Linked DNA regions of Homo sapiens: region 2 is linked to region 1. Evidence: promoter capture Hi-C in 16 types of primary human blood cells and fetal thymus (Javierre and others, 2016). All regions are on one chromosome and are shown on one strand. Each heading gives the region's core, a stretch centred on a gene start or on the middle of the fragment in contact. The rest is flanking DNA. Distances are from core to core; before and after follow the strand shown.

What was found. Contacts are between HindIII fragments. The CHiCAGO score rates a contact against its expected background, and 5 or more counts as called.
Region 2: a fragment that was not itself captured here is called in contact with the fragment with the promoter of CLMP in region 1 in 1 of 17 cell types (M0 macrophages); the score reaches 6.9 in M0 macrophages.

The regions. Positions count from the first base shown.
Region 1 is chr11:123,191,150-123,198,115 of GRCh38, reverse strand. It overlaps CLMP (CXADR like cell adhesion molecule), which reads left to right and starts at 2,868. Exons shown (of 7, transcript NM_024769.5): 1 at 2,868-3,203. The coding sequence starts at 3,176. The HindIII fragment of the contact is 6,233 bases long and covers 1-4,965 here.
Region 2 is chr11:123,471,880-123,479,126 of GRCh38, reverse strand. All of the region lies in intron 1 of GRAMD1B (GRAM domain containing 1B), which reads right to left. Among named protein-coding and RNA genes, the nearest start is that of GRAMD1B, 45 kb to the right of the region's middle. RefSeq lists an enhancer at 412-706. The HindIII fragment of the contact is 4,574 bases long and covers 1-3,623 here.

The sequences.
Region 1 (6,966 bases), core at 1,619-4,118:
GAAAAGAGGTTTCAGATTTAGAGACAGACACCTTCAGGGACCCAAAGATCCTCTTCCAAAAAATATGTGCCATATTGGCTACAAGACTTGGGGCTGGGAAAATTGAGTGCTTGTGACCCAATCTCAGTCTAATCATTTCCTGTGCTGGTGACTAATGACCTAGAGCCAAAGGCGCCTGTTACCTTCGGCTTGAGCAACTGGGTTTAAACACATATCTGCCTACACCCACACACATCTGTCTTCATGCGCACACCAGCCCTCAAGCAATAAACAGCACTGGCATTACTAAGTTCTTGAGAAAGGCCACCAGCAGCGGTGGGGTGGAGGTGAGGCTTTAAAACTTGTGCAAAAACCCCACCTCTAGAGAGAAATAAAAAGGGGGAATCTGGGTGAAGAATTTTTGTACTATTTTCAACTTTTTTGTAAGCCCAAAATGTCAATTTTTTTTTTAATTATAAAGCAGAAACAACAAAAGAGTTACCTTCTGTATGTAGTTTTTCTGCCACCTTCTCCAGCCTTTAAGAATTACTGTTTTTGGCTGGGGATGGTGGCTCATGCCCGTAATCCCAGCATTTTGGGAGTTCGAGTCAGGTGAACTGCTTGAGCCCAGGAGTTTGAGACCAGCCTGGGCAATACAGCGAAACCCAATCTCTACCAAAAATACAAATATTAGCCGGGCATGATGGTGTGAGCCTGTAGTCTCAGCTACTTGGAAGGATGAGGTGGGAGGATCACTTGCACCCAGGAGGCAGAGGTTGCAGTGAACCTGGGTGACAGAGTGAGGCTCTGTCTCAAAAAAAAAAAAAGAAAAGAAAAAAGACGGTTTTTTCAACATATTCATTTACAAATTATAGTTGTGAATGTATCTATTTCCCCTATTAGACAATTAGTATGAAATGGAAAATAAAGTTACTTCGGAGTCAAAGAGACCTTTTAAACACTTCTCAATATAAAAAATAATATTTTTAAATATTAGAATATTAATATTGGAATAGAAGCATTTTAATTCTATTGTGATCTGGGGCAAGATATTTAGGCCTCTCTAAGTTATAGTTTCCTTGTCTTCCTATTCATGCTAAGGGATGGTGATTTTTTTTTCAGTGACTATCCCTTAGCAGTATAATAAGAATGATATAAAAAGGTCAATAATATGACCCAATAAAAACCACGTAATAATATAATATGATTCTGGGTCCATACTTGGTGTTCATGACATACTCCTCCCAGGTTTTTTTAAATGTCAACTTCCAAGTTCTACTCACTTTGTGTCCTCACACCTAAAAAAGCACCTGGCATAGTGTGGATGCTAACACATCGGTATCGAAGGGGTGAGGGAGTGAGTGGAGAAATGCTGCAATTCTAAAGCAATGCTCCAGCTGATCCGCGAGCCCTAGGAACAGCCCCAGCTTTTGCAAGTCCTCTGAGTGACCTTGTGAAACTTCCATAACCTCTCCAGGCCTTTGCTTTCCTAGTCTGCGAAATGGGACGGGTTTTCATTACACATTTGCATTTCATTGCAAATGTGTGACTCGGCAGCCCACCGGCCCCGGCGGGGTTCATCTTTCTTCTCAAGAGCGCTGGCCCCGGCTTCCAACCTGGGCTCTGGCGAGGCCGAAGGTGAGCGATTGCGTCATCATGCCTCTGGGCAGCTGAGGGAGAAGCCCTCCAGGGACATTCAGAGACTGGGACCAGAGTTTCTGAGAGGCCCTGGGCACAAGGTCAGGGCAGGAGGTCCAGGCAGCTGAGGTCTGAGCGCCACCCTCACTGCCCTTTCTTAGTCTCGCTGCCTCCCGCTGCCGCTGAGCAGCAGGGTAGTGAAGGGCAGACTCCCAGGGGCCGACCCTGGGGCGGGGCTGCTCGGCTCCGCGGAACCCACCGTCCGCCCCCGTCCGGCCGCCAGCCTCCTGCCCTCCGCGAGCCTCCTGGGCCGGGTTCCCGGAGCCCGGGCGCGCAGGCCCTGGCACCAGGGGGATTCTGCTCCCTCTGCCTTATGTTCTTTCTGAAAGGGGGTGGTGCACATTTTGGCCAGGGCCACGTGCAGAGCACTTTGCTGCAAAGCATCTCGATAGACCTCTTTCCACGGGGCTGTGGGTCCCCTTCCCCTGGGTGCTGGCTGGCTTAGCTCTGCTCGGGACCTGAGGGAGCGCTGCTGCAAATACCGACAGTAGAAAGCGAGCGAACGCGAAAGGCCCCAGGAAAGCCAGGCCAAGGGGGGTAGCCGGGTGCCAAAGCAGGCAGTCGGTGGGGAGAGCCCTGGTCGGCCGGCCGCTGGCTGCCTTCGCACCCACTTCCGCGCCCCGCCGTCGGCCTGGTCAGTCTGGTGGCTTTACACTAACAGAACCAGACGGGGAGGGAGAGGAGAGGCGAGAAGAGCGCAGAGGACAGAGGGGAGAGGGCATGAGGAGACGAGGAGGGAGAGGCAAGAATGCGAACAAGGAGACCTAGAGAGGAAGAGATGGAAGAGAGAAACGCCAGATTTGTGAGAGACGTGGAAGCAGAGAGAAACGAGAGTAAAAAAGAAGCGAGAGAGAAGTGGAGAGAAGGACCAAGTGAGAGCAGAGCTCTAGGAACGGACAAGGCCTCGTCCATGGGCTCTCAGCCGAGGTGTCACCAATGCCTCCTGCAAAGAATCAATCCTACGCCCGGCGCCTCTCAACCCACCCGCCTCTGCACGGCCCCAGGTCTCCCCCGGCCCTCCCTGCCCGGCCAGCTCACGCTTCTCCCCGACCGGCCCCCACCGCAAACCCCAAACGCCGCGCGGGAGGGAGGGAGGGAAGGAGGGAACAGCGAGAGAGAGAGGGAGGGGCTGCGGTAGGAGGCAACCATGTGGTTCCAGCTGAATTTTTTTTTTCCCTCTCTCTTTCTTCACTCCTTTTTCTTTCCAAACAGGGAAAAGTGTTCCACGAAGCGGTAGCGCCTTTTCGCCTCGCGTTTTCCTCCCTGACCCTGGTCCCGGCTCCCGTCCGGGCGCCAGCTGGTGGGGCGAGCGCCGGGAGCCCATCTGCCCCCAGGGGCACGGGGCGCGGGGCCGGCTCCCGCCCGGCACATGGCTGCAGCCACCTCGCGCGCACCCCGAGGCGCCGCGCCCAGCTCGCCCGAGGTCCGTCGGAGGCGCCCGGCCGCCCCGGAGCCAAGCAGCAGCTGAGCGGGGAAGCGCCCGCGTCCGGGGATCGGGATGTCCCTCCTCCTTCTCCTCTTGCTAGGTGAGTGCCTCTGGGAGGGCGGGAGTTTGGATGGCCGTGGGCAAACGCAGCCCTGCGTCCGGGAAAGACGCCGGTTCTGACCGGGTGTCCCTGCAGCCCCTGGAGTCAGCCGGCTTTTCAGTCCCTGCCTCCTGGCCACGGAGGAGCACATCTGGCAACCGAGGGCCGCCCAGTCGGCCATCGAGATTGTCTCGCACATCTGGGCCCTTGAACAGGCTTGGGGAACCGTTTGATGTGCAGGGTCCTCTTTAGGGCGGTGTTTAGTTTCTGGTGTATCTGGGAAAAGTGGAGAATTGGTGGAGGGAAGGTTTATCCAGGAATTTTTGTGCCAGGTTCCTGAGGGTGGGGGTTTTTTGTTGTTGTTTCAAACAGGCGCCTCCGAGGCTCAGATTAGAAACAGATGTGTTAAAGGGTGAGCAGAGTGGGGGATAGGCAGGGTTGGAGAGGAAAGGGGAGAGGGAAAAAGGGCAGGGCCCAAGGAGCACCAGGAAGATGCAAATGCCCCAAGTCACACAGGGAAGGAAGGAAAAGGGGAAAGGGGAAGGGTTGGGAAGGAGAGAGAAAAAGAGGAGAACAGGAATGTAAAACAGAAGAGCAAGGCTGGGGGAGTCCGAGCACAGAGAGTGAAGAAGACTTGGAAAAAACGCAGCAGAGGAACCAGAACAGAGGGAAATAGAGCAAGCACCACTTTTTCCTGAAACAGGCTCCAGAGCAAAGGGAAGAGTCCTCCTGAGCGTCCCTTCCTGGGGTCCCCCAGGCAGGACTCTTGGGGCCTCAGAGGCCCTGAGGCAGAGGCAGGTTTGCAGGAGAGGACATCAGGGATGTGGGTGGTAGGAGCCCACCGGAGTGACTGGAAATGTCTGAGGAGCCAGGGCAGGAAAGGCAGTCAGGGAGAGCCAAGGGCACGTCACTATGCACCCTGAAGCATGGGATCCACTGCAGACAGGCCCCACAGTTAGCTGGAGATCAGAAAATCAAAGAGCCAGCCAGTGGTCAAGAGTGAGCACTACCCTGAACACCAGGCCACGGGAGAGCTGGTCCTGGTTTTGAACTGACTAGCTGGGTGGCCTCAGACAACTTACTCCTTATCCAGGGCTTCCACGTCTTTAGCTCTGGAAAGAGAATACTAGATGGTTCCTAAGTCCCTTCTAGCCTACAACACCAGAGGTTTGAAGGAGGCTGGTGTCTAGAAGAACCACCAAATCCTGAAATACGTGGTTAGAGTTCTCTGTCTTTTTTGAAACTTTACAAACCAATTATACTGTATGCATACCCATCTTGGCCAGCCTCAGGCTGATAATCACTTAAGTTAGAGAAATGAAAGAGGTGGGCTAAGCCAAACTATTGCTCAAGTAAGGCAGGTGGGGAGGGGTTATTTTCTAAACTCTTTTAGACTTAACCAAATACTGCAATACTGTTCCTGTGCACATCTGGCGCAGCTGGATGGCACCTTGATTCCCTTTACTGGACTCTACCACTAGGTTACCAATCACCAGATATTTAGTAGAATGAAACTTCAGGGCTCTCTTATTAAAAACAGCTAATAGTCCTTGTTATATGAACACTTTATATGTACTATCTTGGTAATTCGTTTGTTCTTCACAACAAGCCTATTGGCTGCCCAGCCATCCTTGTTGGCTACCCTCATTTTACAGATGAAGAAACCAAGCTGTAAAAAGGCCAGGTAACTTGCTCAAGGCCACACACTCATAATTAGGGGAGACGGAATTTGAGCGCAGGCTGCCTGCTTCCAGAGAAAGCTTGCTAAAGCGCATTGCTTTACAGCCTCCTGTGGCTGCAGAGATTCTCAAAGCGCTTACCCTCTGCCACACCTGGCTGGCTCTTCGATCTCACCATCCTCTTCATGGAATGTAAGATGTCAGCGTGACCTATAGGAGAGAGGTCTGGGAAAGGGAAAAAAAATTTGCACTTTTTGAGCACCTGTCCTTATTTAAGAAATGGTTTGGAGCCATGGAATGCTCGGACACTGTTCAGCAAAGGCAGAAAGAAAACACAGCAAGTTGTCTGAATCCTGAAATCATCATACTGGTCCTTTAAAGGGGCAGTTCCAGGGCTGCTTCTGATCCTGGCTGGCATGGTTTTTGGCTTCTCTTTTTCTAAAGATTGCACAGTATCAAACAGGGGCTGGGAGGGTGGAGAGTGTTCATCGTCTGAACTGTGGGACAGTTGACTCCATGTTTCCTGGACCTGCCAATGAGTGAGGTCAAATAACCCACCTCTCTGATGTGAATGAATAAGAAGTGCTCTGAGCCCCATGGAGAAGAGAGAAGGAGCTCCAGCTCAGCCCCTCTTCTGACCCACTATCCTGCCTCACTCCCGTAACGTTCCGGCCCTCATTGTGCCACCTTAACTTCTCTCCTGGATGACTATAGTAGCTGCCACGTTCCTGTCCTGCCTGTCCTCTCTCCTCCATCCTGCACACTGCTACCCGAGTAACCCTGTGAGGCCGCTGGTAGAATGCACGAAGCTGGAACTTAAGAGTCTGGCAACCTCTCTGGTTCTTATTCTGACTCCCTTGTCTGTACAATGGGCATAGGGGTAGGGGAATGTTCAATTCAAAATTTCTATAATTCTATGGTTTTTCTCCCTTCTTCCAAAAACCTTTAGTAGTCTCATTGCTTTTAGTGTTGAGTATAAACACTTCATTCTGACATCAAAGACTTTACATAATGTCATTCACAGCTCTTCCTCTACTCACCCCCAGATACTCGGTAGGGAACCTGAATTACTTCATGCGCCCAAAACATGTCCCATGCTTCTTTCTAATTCTATGCTTTTGTTTATGATAATCCCCCCACCAAAACTGCCTCCTTATTTCCTGCCACTGCAGATCAAAATCATGTTCATTCCCCAAGTCTCACCTCAAATGCCACTTCCTCCATACACCTGTCCATGGTTTCACCAGCTGAATATACTTTTTTTCTTTTGAGTAGTCTATTTGACCTTTGAATCCCAATAGCCTTCCTCTTATGCTACTTTGTATTATGGTGTTCCAAATGCTTATCTAACACCCCATTAGAATGGAAGCTCCATGAAGGCAGGGACAGTGTCTCATTCACCTGTGAACCATGTTCAGTACCTTGCATAAACACTTGTGAACTATTTGTTAAGAGATAATTGGATTTTTGAAGTATTTGAAATCTTTAAGGTCAAGAGAGGTGAAAAATTTGGAAGATCACTAACCTTTGACTGCGGGATAACCCAATAGTGAGGAGCCCAGTTTTAATTCAGCTTGCTTTGAGCTTCCTTGTCTATTAATGCAAATAGGACCAGTCCTATTTTTAAAAAATTCACAAAGAACATTACAGGGATAGGGACCAGATAATATATTTGTCATACAAATTTATTTTGTATATCGTGTGTGCTAGTACCAGATTAAAAATAGACTTACCTGTTGAAACTTCTGCCAGCACGGGGAAGGAGCCTGGTTTCGCAGAAAGTGAGTTTGAAGAAGGCATGAATGCATAGTCCATTGGTCTGTAAGATAACGACAGGTCTCAGTAGGATTCCATGTCCTACCCTTATCTTCCCACTTTAATGGTGATGGTCATAATAACGATATATTCCCTGTAGGCTTATATCTAGTCATATCCTATTTTTGTCTTGTGCTTATCTGGGCAGGGTACACATGAGTATTATTTCATGAATGCATCTAGTGATGATGGATATTTTTTAAAGGTAGAGTCAAAGATTGCCAGAACTGGAGGAAAACTAAGAGACTGTTTAAATCAATCGTTCTTAA
Region 2 (7,247 bases), core at 87-2,586, 280 kb before region 1:
CCCTTCCATGCAGCACGTTTTTACAGCTCGTTCACTATGCAGTGGCTGCTCATCATTTTCACTTTGCCAGCTCGGATGGATTTGCCTATTACCAACTCCACATAACCAAATTTCACTATAATGTCGTTAACTCATGAGATGTCTTACTTGGAACTGGCCTGTTATATGAATCAAGCATCCCCTTATATACAACCTGGGACAAGTGTTACTCCACAGTAGGCAGCACACAGATGACTGTAACTCAAATTCCAAAGCCCACACAGCTCCAGAAGCAGGGTCTACACTGTGGGAGAACACACCATTTACAACAGTCAACAGGGCTCAACCAAGCCAACCACAATCAGCATTGCAGCCTCTTCAAAGCAGGGGTCAAACTTGACCCCGCTGAGCCAGGATGGGCTGGTTCTTCCTAGTCCCCCTATCCTCCCCCGGCAATCAAAATTTTAAACTAATAAAGGGGGCTCCCAGAACTCAAGGCCATCTACCAGGATTTCAGAAAAATAATTCTAAGCTGATATTTGCAAGTTTACCCACTAGATGGCACTGTAGACTTCCAAACCAGAACTACAAGGAAAACCAATAAGGAGCCTCAGGAACCGGAACCAGGAACTGCCTCCTTTCTGGCGCCCCTCTCTGGCCTGCCTTCCCATGGCTTAGAAAACAGTTCAGATGGCAGAGAAGGCAGCAATGGGTCATGTTCAAACTGTGTATTGGTTTCAAATAAATATCAAACTACATGCATCCAACAAGTATTCACATCACGCTATGTGTACACGAAGCATCATCAAGACAATGGTTAAGAGTCTACAGTATGGAACCAGGCGGGTTGGCTCATGCCTGTAATCCCAGCACTTTGGGAGGCTGAGACCGGAGGATCGCTCAAACCCAGGAGTTCCTGATCAGCCTGGGCAACCTGGTGAGACCCCATCTCTATAAAAAAAAAATTAGCCAGGCATGATGGTGTACACCTGGAGTCCCAGCTACTCGGAAGACTGTGGTGGGAGGAAGGAAGGACAAAGAAAGAAAAAGAGAAGAGGCTGGGTGTGGTGGTTCACGCCTGTAATCCCAGAACTTTGGGAGGCGAGGCGGGTGGATCACCTGAGATCAGGAGTTTGAGATGAGACTGGCCAACATGGTGAAACCTCATCTCTACTAAAAAAAATAAAAAATAACAAATAAAAAAAATTAGCCAGTCTTGGTGGCAAGCGCCTGTAATCCCAGCTACTTGGGAGACTGAGGTCAGGAGAATCACTTGAACCAGGGAGGCGGAGGTTGCAGTGAGCGAGATCGCGCCACTACACTCCAGCCTGGGCGACAGAGTGAGACTCCATCTGAAAAACAAAAAAAGAGAAGAAAAGGGAAGGAAAAGGGAAAGGGAAAAGGAAAGGGAAGGGAAGAGAAAGGGAAAGGAAAGGAAGGGAGAAGGAAGGGAAAGGAAGGGAGAAGGAGAAGGAAGGGAGAGAGAAGGGAAAGGGGAAGGGAGGGAAGGGAGGGGAGGGGAGAGAGAGGGAAAGGAAGGGAGACGGGAGGGAGGGGAAAGGGAGGCCACTAACAGATAAAACTGTCTTTTGGAAACCCTGAAAAAGAAACTCTAAACTAGGATTTGGAATGACTTTGCCTTGGCACCGATGACTGAAAGATGCCTTAACACTGCAAAGAAGGGAATTGTATAAGCAACTGTTTGCCATTCGCTCAAGACAGCTAGTCCAGTGACAATTCCATTTACCACTTACCGTTTCCATTTTCATTTCCATTTTCCATTTACCACTCTCAAGTACCCAGCACTGTGCTAGGGGAGGGGAGGGGAGGAGAGGGGAGGGAAGGGAGAATGAAAGGGAGGGGAGGGAGAGGGGAGGGGGAAGGGAAGGAAGGGGGAGAAGGGGAGAGGATGGGAGGGGGAGAGGAGGGGGAGGGGGGAGGGGAGGCAAGGGAGAGGGAAAGAAAGAGAAAAAGAAAGAAAGAAGGAGGAAAGAAAGAAAGAGAAAGAAATGTGAAGTATGAAAAAGAGCATCTGCCACATTTTAACTGCTATGTAAATGCCAGGTGCCATTATCCTATATGCAAGGCATCATTTTATGGGTTATAGGAAAAGAAAGACGTGAATCAAACAAGGATCCTGCTCTCAAAGTGCTTAGAATCAGGAAAGTAAGATTCAATATAAATAACTATATTTAAAAGCAGAAAAATGATAACTCTCAATACTATGTATTAAGTGCTATGGGAACACAGAATGCAGAAATGTCATGTCCTTCTGGGACCAGTAAGACAATTCTGTCTTAACAACAAGATTTTTGTGCTGCCACTTAAAACTGGATAGACTCAAGACATGCAGAAATGAGAAGAAAAGGCATTCTAGTTCAATTCCGTTTACCACTCTCATGTACCCAGCACTGTGCTAGGAGACAGTACTGTAAAGATGATCAGGACAAGGTCTCTCCAGCAAAGAGCTCCCAGTCTAAGACATACAAATATTCACCGTGGACTGTGATGCAACAACAGCAGAAAAATGAACAAGGTGTAGCTGGTGGACACCTCTGTTGGAAAGCTCCAGGGAACACATCAGAGAGGTGAACATCGAGCTGGAGGGACTCTAGATAAATCCATGGTGGCAACAGGCATAGGGTATATACAGGATCTTTCCTCCTCCAGTACCCTCGGCAGAGGCCTGGCCCTATTTCCTCCCATTATTTGAGCTTGTTTTTCAACAGTCTTAAAGAAGTTAAATGGGCCGGGTGCGGTGGCTCACGCCTGTAATCCCAGCACTTTAGGAAGCCGAGGCGGGTAGATCACCTGAAGTAAGGAGTTCGAGACCAGCCTGGCCAACATGGTGAAACCCTGTCTCTACTAAAAATACAAAAATTAGCCAGGTGTGATGGTGCACGCCTATAATCCCAGCTACTCGGGAAGTTGAGGCAGGAGAATCACTTGAACCTGGGAGGTGGAGGTTGCAGTGAGCCAAGATCGTGCCACTGCCCTCCAGCCTAGATAACAGAGACTCCGTCTCAAAAAAAAAAAAAAGAAGTTAAATGGATGAATTGCTGCCAACCACTCCTCCACTCAATCCCATGAAATAATATTGTTGAGCAGAATTTCCAGAGATTCAGACACTGCCTCACCCTCTCACACACACCCTTTCAATTCTTCTCTTATATGAGCCTTTTTCAATGATATAGGCCACCTGGACCCCAGGCAACTCACGCTGCTCCCTAAATAAACCTACCAGTCTTCGGAGACCATGAAAAGAGCAACCTCCAGGCCAAGGTGTTTATAAAGGAGTGCAGCATGCTACAAGGTCAAAAAGCACACCTCCCTCCACTCCAGATTAGTCAAGGCCTTAGTGGGAGAAGACATCCAGTCTGCGTCCACTCTGGGATTCAGGAGGTTGAAAAGAACTTGGAGAAAGTCCAGCAGAGGGCACTAACAGATGAAACTGTCTGTTGGAAACCCTGAAAAAGAAACTCTAAACTAGGATTTGGAATGTCCTTGCCTGGGCACCGGATGACTGAAAGATGGCTTAACACTGCAAGGAAGGGAATTTGTATAAGCAACTGCTTGCCATTCGCTCAAGACAGCTAGATATGGAACTAGGATGACTTTAATCCCTCCTGCTGTACATTCAAGCTTCAGATAAAATTCACTGTATAAATTAAATTTTGGAACACTAGACCATGTTCCTAAATAAGATGGGAAGCTCTTGGTAAAATTCTGGGATATTCCTGAGGGAAACCAGCTGAAGCAGAATCCTGGTTTTGTTTAAGACCAGCGTGCTAGTGCAGGAGCTTATCCTGGAAGGTCACATTAATACCAGCAGCACTGGAAGGACTGGGAAAAATCCACAGGAATCTGAGCCAAAGCACGCTCCACAAGGGAGAAATTCACTAGGCTTTGACCAGGAAGCTCTGCAATGCGGGCTGGGCAAATTCTCATGATTCCAGTGATCTCCCTTCCTCCCTCCCTGTACCCAGGACACGTGCAGAAAGTACAGACTAAACCCACGAACCACCAGGAAGCCGTCCTTCTGCCCTCTGAAAGGCACGGCTTTACTGCTAGAAAGACGGAATATGGCAACCTCTACTGAGTAGGTGCTTCCTAGGGAGAAACAGCTCTTTCTCTTCCAGGCAACCCTACAGGAGTCATAGCTTCCTATGCCCAGAAGGGGTTCTGAGAGATTCAGGTGGTCCCAAGCCGTCATGGGGGCATGTAGGCTGTAATGCAGTATTTCCAGAGCCTGATGGAAACTACATTTACCCACACCCAGGCTGCAGAGACTAATGTACTGCATCTCTTTACTTCTGGCTGCAACTGAGGCAATCTCTCCTGTTAGTATCAATTATCTCATGCTAATTAGAAGCTGCAAAAGGCTCTGAGTGGCAGTTATAGATGTCTTTGTGTCTTTGTTAATAAAAATGGGGAAATATATTATTTTAAGCAGTGATACAGTAGAAATAGCACCAAGGCAGACAAACCTGGGTTTGCCCCCTGCCTTTATTTGTTTTTTGTTTTTCTGGATTGAGGTCCTTGGGACATAGGCTTTGTTTCTTATTAGCCTTCTAACCTTGGCCAAGTCACTTATCCTCCCTTAGCCTATTTCCTGAAAAATGGAGACTTATTGCGATTACTCACAACTTAGTCCTCTATTTATAGAACTGCACAGAGGATTAAGTTGTGAATAATCCAGTCACAGTATCTGAGTTCAGGATATGGCGTCAGAGAGACGCACATTCTAGTCCTGACTCTGCCACTTAGCAGAGGGGGAGATTGAGAAAATTATTTCACTTTTCTAACAGTCAGATGTGGGTAATAATGCATGCCTTAAAAGACTGCAGTTCTGTTGGATTCAAGATTGCCATTACTTTAAAAAAAATTAAAAGTTAAAAAAAAGAAAACATTGCAGTGGGGATTAGAAATGGTAGAAATCATCTGTAGAACATGTTTAGGGCAGTAGCAGGCCCTTGGTGAGTGTATCATAAATGGTGGATATCTATTACACTGAGTATTCAGTTAGTGTGTCAGAATATTTTGAAATAGCCAGTGCATGGGAGAAAGATAACAGAAAAGGCCCTTAGCCTGAAAAGTAGGGCCTCACCACCACTGACAGAAGAGAGAGCTGGGTTTTCATGCTAAATTATTTCTACATATAAAATGACTCTGGCATTTACTATTTCAGCTTAAGTAGGAAAGGTGTATGGGGGAAGAGAAGGCAGGTAGCAAAGATGGAGAGAATAAAGGAGGAGTTTCTGTGTGCCACCTGGCAAGCAGGTATGGACAAGTCTAATAATAGAAAATAAGTAAACAAATGTGACTGGGGTACTGCCACCTCCTTACAGAACATCCCTCAATATCCTCAAACACCACTTAGAAATAACATACTTGAGGTGAATATTGAGAATTTGTCTACCGAGTTAGAAGGTTCACTTCTGCTTAATAGCTCCCATGGGAACCTGCAGCAAGGTGGGTAGAATCCCTGGTCAAAGATTCAGGGATTCAAAATCCAGCTAAATATCTTCCTAGCTCCTTACAACTCATGAATACTTCTCTATTTAATGGTTCTTGGGACTGGGTGAGGTGGGTCACACCTGTAATCCCAGCATTTTGGGAGGTTGAGGAAGGAGGATCTCTGGAGCCCGGGAGTTTTGAGACCAGCCTGGGTAATACAGTGAGACTTCATCTCTACAAAAAATAAATGAAAACAAAAATTAGCACGGTGTGGTGGTGTGTGCCTGTAGTCCTAGCTACTGGTGATATGGGAGTTAAGAAGAAATTGTCAGGGCACGGTGGCTCACGCCTGTAATCCCAGCACTTTGGGAGGCCGAGGTGGGCAGATCACCTGAGGTCAGGAGTTCGAGACCAGCCTGGCTAACATGGTGAAACCCCGTCTCTACTACAAATACAAAACTTAGCCAGGCATGGTGGCAGACTCCTGTAATCCCAGCTACTCGGGAGGCTGAGGCAGGAGAATTGTTTGAACCCGGAGGCAGAGGTTGCAGTGAGCCAAGATTGCACCATTGCTCTCCAGCCTGGGGGACAAGAGCGAGACTTCGTCTCAAAAAATAAAAGAAGAAATTATTTAGGCAGATAGTGAGGGTAAGGAAGTCCTCCGTAAGATTTTCCTGTTAATGAAAAGCATCCCCCAAATCATTTTCTTTTCTAACAAAGAGCAGCCTGTAAAATTTAGCTGCAGACATAGACAAGCAAGCTGGAAGCTTCCATGGGTGAATGCCAGCAGTTGTGCCAATAGGAAAAGGCTACCTGGGACTAGGCATGTTCAAAATGGTGGCTCCATCTTCCCTTCTCTTTGCCAGCCACATGTATGGTAAGGAGCAGACAACATGGTGCCAGCCAAGTGGAAAGCCCATCTGGATAATAAGATTAGGGTGGAGTGGCCAGCCTTCCCCCTGGGCTATGTAAACGTCACACCTGGTCCAACCAGTCTGTGAGCCCTATATAAATCAGACACCACCTCCTCAAGCCTGTCTATAAAAATCTGGTGCACTCCACAGCACCTGGCGTAATTCCCATTTGGGTGCCCCTCTCTCTCACAAGAGTGAGTTGTTCTTTCTCTTTCTTTCGCCTATTAAACCTTCACTCCTAAACTCACTCCTCATGTGTGTCTGTGTCCTTAATTTTCTTGGCATGAGATGACGAACCTTGGGTATTACCCCAGACAACAACGCTGCTTCACCGGGGAGGCCGAGGTGGGAGGAACGCTTGAGCCAAAGAGATCAAGGTTACAGTGAACTATTATCACACCACTGCACTCCAGCCCAGGCAACAGGGTGAAACCATATCACTAAAAAAATAAAATAGTTCACCTCTGAACATGCCCATGTCTGTGTTTAACAAAAGAAAAGGCTCTCTCTCCACTTCTTTCTTTTTTCTTTTTCTCTTTTTTTTTTTTTGAGACAGAGTCTTGCTCCATTGCCCAGGCTGGAGTGCAGTGGCATGATCTTGGCTCACTGCAACCTCTGCCTCCTGAGTTCAAGTTCCCACCTTAGCCTCCTGAGTAGCTGGGATGACAGGCCCGCACCACCATGCCTGGCTATGTTGGCCAGGCTTGTCTTGAACTCCTGGCCTCAAATGATCCACCTGGATTGGCCTCCCAAAGTGCTGGGATTATAGGCATGAGCCACCACACCCAGCGTTAGTTTTCCTCTCTTGATGGCCATTTTATTGCAAGAACATACATACTACTTTGTAATTGCTGAACTTCCATTAAAACAATATTATAATAAATTCAGGAGCTTTAC